2 separate regions of the Homo sapiens genome follow, and region 1 is linked to region 2. Evidence: promoter capture Hi-C in 16 types of primary human blood cells and fetal thymus (Javierre and others, 2016). All regions are on one chromosome and are shown on one strand. Each heading gives the region's core, a stretch centred on a gene start or on the middle of the fragment in contact. The rest is flanking DNA. Distances are from core to core; before and after follow the strand shown.

Region 1 (4,055 bases), core at 21-2,520, 240 kb before region 2:
AAAGTTCTTTCCTGTCAAGTTAAGAGCACAGGTTGTGAACTCAGGATGCCTGGATTTGAATTTCATGTTCAGTTTTTACCAGAAATATGACATTGAGCAAGTTCTAACTCTAACCTTCAGTATTTCATTCTGTAAAGTGGAGCTAATAACATCTCAAAAATTGTTGAGAGAATGTGGTAATATACTTTGCATTGTGCCCAGAATTTGGAAAAATGTCAATGAATGTTAGCTGCTGTTGTTATTATTGTTATGATGGTAGCTAACTTTCTTGCAGTAGAGGAATAACAACATTTAACATATAGTAGTAGTTATTATCTATGAGACATTTGTGAGTACGAATATATGAGTATAAAAACCTGTACCCTTAAATTATGCACTGAAACTTTGTATTCTTTTGACTTCATGTAACTGAGAACAAAACTTGAGCTCACCTGAATCCTCTAGACTTTATGAAGTACTGTTAGAAGACACTTGTGACAACAAACAGCACAGAGAACCACATTCCCTGCCTTTAACCTCTGAGTCACAGTTATACAGCATAAATCATACAAACCGTCTCGGACATGTACTATAGCTCAAGTCTCTCCTCCTCAATTATTTTCTTTTAAACTCAATCTGTGAGGAATATTTGGGTAAATAACCTTTCTCCTTGTTTCTGTTACTTTCCACATGTCAAAAATAGAATATGGCCAAACTATTCTTTTCCACATTACTCATTTTAACCAGGAGTGCTCAGAAAAGTTTGGAAATGACTTTCAGAGAAACATTTTTAATTGTTTTTAATTTATCTAAAAACAGGCTAAAAAGTTTAATTAACAGGCTCCAAGTAACAGTTATACCATTTTTCCTCTGCTATCAGCTTTCACTTTTATTTACGATGAGTGTCCCCTTGTGTCTCCTCTACGCCAAGGTCCACTATCACTAATATTTCTGTGATATGTGAATAAACCTAAATGTAAAGTTAGCACTTGCAATCAATGCAAATTAATGATTTTTTTAAAAATTTCAATCAGGAAAAGCAGCTTTGTAGTTGAAAATCCCATGCTGGCCCTAGAGTGGGAGTTTTTCCAGCCTCTGCTTAAATCCAAAAAAATACTGCAATCTTCTGGCACAGGCTCACTGTAATGCTTTAAAAACAATTTAGCAACTGTCATTGCTGTAATTACAGTAACTAATTACCATCCTTAGCAAACAAATAGCTTAACATAATACGCAAGCCGAATCAATTTTGAAGAAATGCAAATTCCAAAAGCGAAAAAGGGCATTTTGGCAAACCTGAAAGAGAAGCAGGAAAATAATACACTTTGTTTTATCTGCACATAATTCCCAGGGAATATCATATCATAAATATTTGCATTCAGTTCTTATCAGGACATTTGCATTTGCTTCTTATCAGCGTGCAGACTGGACTCTGCCAGATAGAGAGGGGAGCGCCACACCATGCACATATTTCTAATGAATCACGTCTCAGGCCCAGAGAATATTTTGGCTGGAACTTTATCACCCAGATGAAGAGGTCATTTACTCTTCGAGTTGGTTCATCTTGGAATTGTCTTGAGATTTTGATGTGATTCACCCGACGCCACATTTATTTATTTCTTTATTTTAGACAAACACTGGAAGCAGTTTTTTTACCAGAATATTTCTTCCAGAGGCAGCTATTCAAAGGACACATTTCCCCTCGCCTGCCACCCCCTCCCCACCCACTCCTCAACTTCTGCAAAAAATAAAATCATGAGTAAATAACAACTGATTCTAATTATTTCTAATTCTGTACCAGGGTTGGCCATCTTTATTTTGTAGGAATCAATAGAGAGAATAAAAGCAACACGTAGAATAAATCAAGCCCTACTCGACCATCATTATCTGGAAATTTAGGGCCAAATCCTGTTGTAGTTCTCCAGGAGCACATTTGATCCTTAGTAAGGGTCTTCCTTAGTAAGAGGAGGCAGTGTTGCTGGCCCGGAAGCACCTTACTAATGAGACCATCAGATTCCTCTAACAGTTTATCCAGATAAATCAATTTCTCATCTTATGATGAGTAACAGTGCATCTTACCCATGAGCACACATAAGGTCGATAAGGGAGCTGATAGCAGCTTCTCATATGTGAATGAGAATTCCGTCTTTTTTAACTCTTGAATTATCATCTGACATGACACCCAGCATGCATTGGCTTGCTGCGCCTGAACATAAAGCACTCAAGCAGTCTATTTTGTTTTGGCGAGAGAAGCAGAAATATTATTCATCTTGATTGGATCCTTTCTGTTGGGTCTTGCTGTTTAATTAAACCAGATCTGTGTTTTAGCTCTTTGGTAACATGGGGTTCAAATAGACAGGGATATTATATCCTTATGTAAAACAAGGGCCGGTTGGTGTCCAAGAATCATGGCTATGCAAGTAAAGATTTCTACAGGCGTGCTATTATTACACAATTTCCCCTGTAATTTTATCATCTACTTGATATTATTGCACAAATTCTGAGGTCAAACTTCAAAGTAAAACTCTGGATGGGATCAATCTGAGTACCAGGAATTCAATTTCCAATTATAAATTAAAATATAGGTATAATGGGAAAATTTCTCATTTATAATAGTAGCAAAAATGCATTTAATTGTGCTTCATAGTGATTTTATTCATGAATATGGTCACTTAAACTTAATTTCACCTTTTGCCCAAGTAGAATTTCACTTTGATTTATTTGTTTAACATAAAAAGAGAACTTCTGGCTTATTATGATTCAAATGATTGACACATCTCTATTGGAATCCAGAAAATGCTATTTAAAATCTTATAAGAACATAAACATCTCATGAAACTTTATTCCAATAACAGTAAAAGAAGTTTCTGTCAAATTATTTGTTTTAATTATACTTTTTCTTAAAAAAATCGTAGCTTTTTATTTTTCCCTGAATAGTGGTAACATAGGTATTTGAATATTTTTTATTTTGACATAAATTATTTCATTTAAAAATGTCTAGACACAGTTGCTCTGACTTTAAGAATTTAAAATATTATTTAAGTCTTAAATGAGCATTTTATAACATTCTCTTGTGAAATTATTTCAAGAATTTTCCAAAATTTAAATAAGAAATGAAAATTTATGTCGAGATGAAAGGTTAAAATTATGTGGCATCTTAAAAGAAATTCACATGAAGTTGTCAGGACATTTATGTATTTTGTCTAAATTCAACTTTTGTGTATATATTTACATTATGTGTTATGCTGTAACTCTAGGATGCATCATGAATTATATTTAAAAAAATAAAATATCCTACAAAAAAGTAAGAGCCTAGAGAAAGAATAACACTAAAATATATTTGTGAGACTCAATAATTCATCTGGAAAAGACTTCATATCTATCTTTTATGTTTTATCATTGCTTTTAGCTGTTTCTTTGAGGTGGGAAGAGCATATAGTTAAGAGCTCATTATCAGGGTGAAGGATGCAGGAAGTCCAAAATATTTATGTTTGTTCATGGCACATGGACAAAAGACAGTTCTCAGGAAAAGGGCTTTCTGATTAAGTGATTGAAAACACTCTGGGGTATTTTAATAACTTCTTCTATCCAAGAGATAACATCATCTTTGTCCTTATCACTGTTCTGAAACTTATTTTAAACATTCTCCTGTTCTCTTCCAATTAGATGCTCTGCTCTCTTGGCTTCCTGTGTCCTCACTGCAACTCATCTCATTTGTTTGCTTTCTCATTTTTGTCAGCAGGTTGGGTGTAAAAGAGGCATTTAACAGATAATTGAAGGGACTTGCTTTCCAGAGTCAAATTCATCTACATGGCATTCAGCCATAGGCTTTCAGTGATAAAACATGGACATGTAAAACATCAACTTGTGATTTGTAAAAGCTTAAAATATTGATGATTGAACAGGGTTACAGGAGATGATAGAGGGGAATCTGTTCAATTTTCAATGAAAATTGATAATGCCCAAATAGGTAATATAAAATCAGATCAAACACTCAGGCAAAATTTATTTAAGGAAAACATATATATGGAGAAGTAGTTTATGTCTACATTTGCTCACGCCTTTGTCTAAAACTC
Region 2 (4,045 bases), core at 1,275-3,774:
CTAGGTGAATGGGTGCTCTAAATGCCTGGATATCTTCCTGGGCACGGAGTGGAGAGGGCCCCACTGCACCTTGATCTATGTTCATGAAGGGTGAGACAGCTCATGCTGATGATTCAGGCAATCAGGTGCTCTAAATGCCTGGATATATGCCTGGGGGTGGAGTGGAGATGGCCCCATTTCACCGTGATTTCAGGGAAGCAGGCTGGGGCACCCAGCAATGGCATCCACAGACTGGTTCCAGGTCACTGAACTGGCTCTACCTGCAAGTCTCACTGCCTAGGATAAACTGCAGCTTTAGAAGCTCTCCCCACCCTAGACTTGTCACAAGGAAGAGCACAATTCCAGCGCCTACTGTTGAGGTGCTTTCCACAGTTCTGGCTGTGGAGGCCACAACCCGGCCCCAGAGCAGGCACTCCAATGTCTGGCCTGAGACTCAAATGTCTGTGTGACCATGCTGCCAGGTTACCAAAGAATGGCTGACCAGATCATGCAACCAGATTAAAAATGTTGTCCTCCTCTCAATCCCAGGTCTAGGAAAATGTCTGAAGCTTTTCCCACTGTCTTTCCCTCATGGCATCTCCAAGCCTCTCCTCAAGTTAGTTTCAGGGTTTGAGAGAAACAAAGTGCTCTCCCTTGGGTTGCTCAGATCCCTAGTGGAAAGGTGAGTCATATAGGGCAGCTCTCTGCATCTCTCACTTACTGAGGCTTCACTTACTTTTGTCAGGCAGATGCCATCATTGGGATTTTTGCCAGCATTCTCTCTGAGATCTTGGATGCTTTTCATTATTTCAGTAGATTCCTGTTTTCCTTCTTGAATTAACACTGAGTTTATCTTTATGCACTATCTGTCTATTTCCAAATGGCTGAGGCATGGTAAAAGCATATAATCTAGCATCTTTGGAAAAAATGGAAGCAAAATTATGTAAGTTTTGAATACCATGTTGTAGGATAATAATATAGATGTATTTTTGCTTAAAGCCAAACTTTTTTATGTTGTGTTGTCATTGTTGTGGGGTTTATTTGTTTACTAAACTCTGCAAGAGGTAAAATCAGATTACACTGTAATATTTGCTATATGAGATATTTTCTTCTACTAATTGCAAGCTAAAAATAAGTTAACCAATGGCTCCCTGTTAGGAAATTAAAAATACAATTTCATATGTTTCTTACGAGGACTAAAGAACCATAAACCTCTTCTTTGCGTATAAGGATGGCAAAGAGCTCAATTTTTTTCTGAGCAATTTTGTTCCCTTTTCTGAATGGTAAATTTAGTATTATTGAATAATAGACTACAACGATTTAATCTTGAATTATTTTATCAAAGGACACTTAGGTTATTTTATTTATTTCCAAGAGTATTTCTTGTATTTAGTTTATGTTTGCTTATACGTGATAGAACATATATGAATCTATTCTGGATTACCAATATTGAATAACAAAAAGGATGTTTGGCAGATTATAGACAAATATTTTAGAAAGCATATTCTGCTTAAAATTTTATTTTTCATACAGTCACGAGTAATCAACTCATAACTAACCTATAACTTAATGTCGATGCCCCAAAGCTAAAGAGAAGGTCCATAGGAAAATAAGAAAATAGATGTAAAAAGAAGTACTTCTAGAGACATGAAATTTCAGTACAACAAATAGATAAATCTAAAACTTCCTTTAGAATTATTTTCCATCTATAATTTGACTTATCAGCACCATTTGTTGATATCACACAATAAAAAAAGACTTCAAAATTCAGAATATAAAATTCTAAACCCTGCCCGATACTAATCAGGAGTAAAAACAAAATAAAATATTTTAAGGCTTTCAAATCTTGAATTTACCTCTCATGTTCCTTTTCTGAGGATGGTTCTTAATGATATCATTCGTGATAATGAATCAGAAAACAGAAACAGAAACTAAGAAAGACAAATTGTGCAATATAAGAAGCGAGGAAATTCACCCTGGAAGCTAAAGAAAACAGACTCTAGAATGACAGCGTTTGGTAAACACAGAAAATAATTGGCAGTCTTAGAATAGGAATTTAGTGGGCTACAAGACAAACATCTTTGGAGGAATTAAATGGACATCAGCAAGATGATTGAATAGGGAGCCCTAGCCTCTCTTTCCTCTAAGGAGAAAGCAATTCAACAACAATACAGACCATTTCCCTTTGTGAGAAATCCAGAAACCAACTAAAAGGTTCCAGCATCCCAGGCAAACACAAACCCAGCTGCACCAATGCCAGTAGGAAGATTCATGGCAAACACTTACCATAGGCCCTCTTCCTCAGTGCAATGCAATTGAGAGAAAACTCCCAGATCTCAGTTTCTCCCTTGGAATGGAAAGAGAAGACTGAAACATATGTCCAATGTTGAGACTTTTTCAGGAGCTGCCCAAGGGACTGGTTTATGTCCTGACTAGAAGAACACTGACAGGAAGGGGTGCCAAGTTGAGAGCTGCTGAGAACAAAGGCAAAAATTTGGACCCTTCACTGGCCATGGTCGCTTCCTCTGGCTCAGTAAATAAAGAGTAGAAGAAAACCTCTAACTCCTTGCTTCCTCCTGGAGAGGAAAAGAAATAAAACCAGCAACCAAATTTCTGGCTTTTGGCAGCCTATCTGAGAGGACTAGTTTTTATCTTGCTATCTCAGAGCCATATATGACAAGCCCATAGCTAACATCTTGCTCAACAGTTAAAAACTGAAAAATTTTCCTCTCAAATCAGGAACAAGGCAAGAATGCCCAATCTTGTCACTTCTATTTAACATAGTTCTTGAAGTCCTAGCTAGAGCAAATAAGCAAGACAAAGAAATAAAAGGCATTCAAGTCAGAAAGGAAGATGTAAAATGATCTCTATTAGTAGATTACATGGGTACACAAAAAATTCTCAAGATTCCACAAAAAAAAACCTGTTAGAACTAATAAATTCAGCAACATTGCAGGATCCAAAATTATCACAAAAATTACTTATGTGGCTATACACTAACAATGAAATATCCAAAAAGAAAATTAAGAAAACAATCCTTACAATACTTACAATACTTACAATAGCATCAATAAATATAAAATACTTAGGAATAAACTTAACCAAAGAAGTGAAAGTCTTCTACACTGAAAAACTATAAAACATTACTGAAAGAAATTAAAGAAGACACAAATAAATGGAAAGACATCCCATGTTCATAGATTAAAAGACAAGATTGTAAAAATGCCCATATTGCCCAAAGAGATCTATAGGTTCAATGGAATCCCTATCAAAATCTCAGTGGCATTTGTTGCACAAATAAAAAAGCATCCTTAACCTCATATGGAACCATAAGAGAGCCGAACTAACCAAAGTAAAATTGAGAAAAAATAACAAAAAAAAAAAGCCTCACACTTTGTGACTTCAAAACGTATTACGAAGTTATAGTGATTAAAAATTTGTATATGGGACTGGCATTACAGACATATAGACCAGTGTAACAGATTAGAATGGCCACAAATAAATCTACATATATATGATTAACAAGCATGACATCCTTCAACAAGGATGTCAAGATGTCATCATTGTTGACATCCTTCAACAAGGATGTCAAGATGGCACTATGGGAAAAGGATAGTCCCTTCAGCAAATGGTGTTGGGAAAGGTGGCCATTCACATGCAAAAGATAGAAATTGGACCTTTATCTCACACCAAACACAGAAATCAATTCAAAATAGTCTGTGATTTGTCTTTTTCTGTTTTGTTTCCTTTTAAATTTTTGTGGGTACGTAGCATGTGTATATATTTATGGGGCACATGAGATATTTTGATACAGGCATACAATGCATAGTAATCACATCAGAATAAGTGGCATATTCATTACCTCAAATATTTATACTTTATTCGTGTTACAAACAACCCAATTATGCTCTTTTAGTTATTTTTAAATGTACAATAGATTATTGCTAACTGTAGTCATCCTGTTGTTTTATCAAATACTAGATCATATTTATTCTATTTTTTGTACACGTTAATCATCCTTTATGCTTCACCCCTACCCAAAACCCTTCCCAGCCTCTCATAATCA

Evidence for each region. Contacts are between HindIII fragments. The CHiCAGO score rates a contact against its expected background, and 5 or more counts as called.
Region 1: a contact is called between a fragment that was not itself captured here and the fragment with the promoter of LINC03084 in region 2, in 14 of 17 cell types (neutrophils, endothelial precursors, naive B cells and 11 more). The highest score is 14.6, in neutrophils.

The regions. Positions count from the first base shown.
Region 1 is chr8:104,949,046-104,953,100 of GRCh38, forward strand. No RefSeq gene overlaps it. Among named protein-coding and RNA genes, the nearest start is that of LINC03084, 240 kb to the right of the region's middle. The HindIII fragment of the contact is 5,175 bases long and covers 1-3,858 here.
Region 2 is chr8:105,186,271-105,190,315 of GRCh38, forward strand. It overlaps LINC03084 (long intergenic non-protein coding RNA 3084), which reads right to left and starts at 2,525. Exons shown (of 3, transcript NR_187537.1): 1 at 2,266-2,525. The HindIII fragment of the contact is 4,322 bases long and covers 547-4,045 here.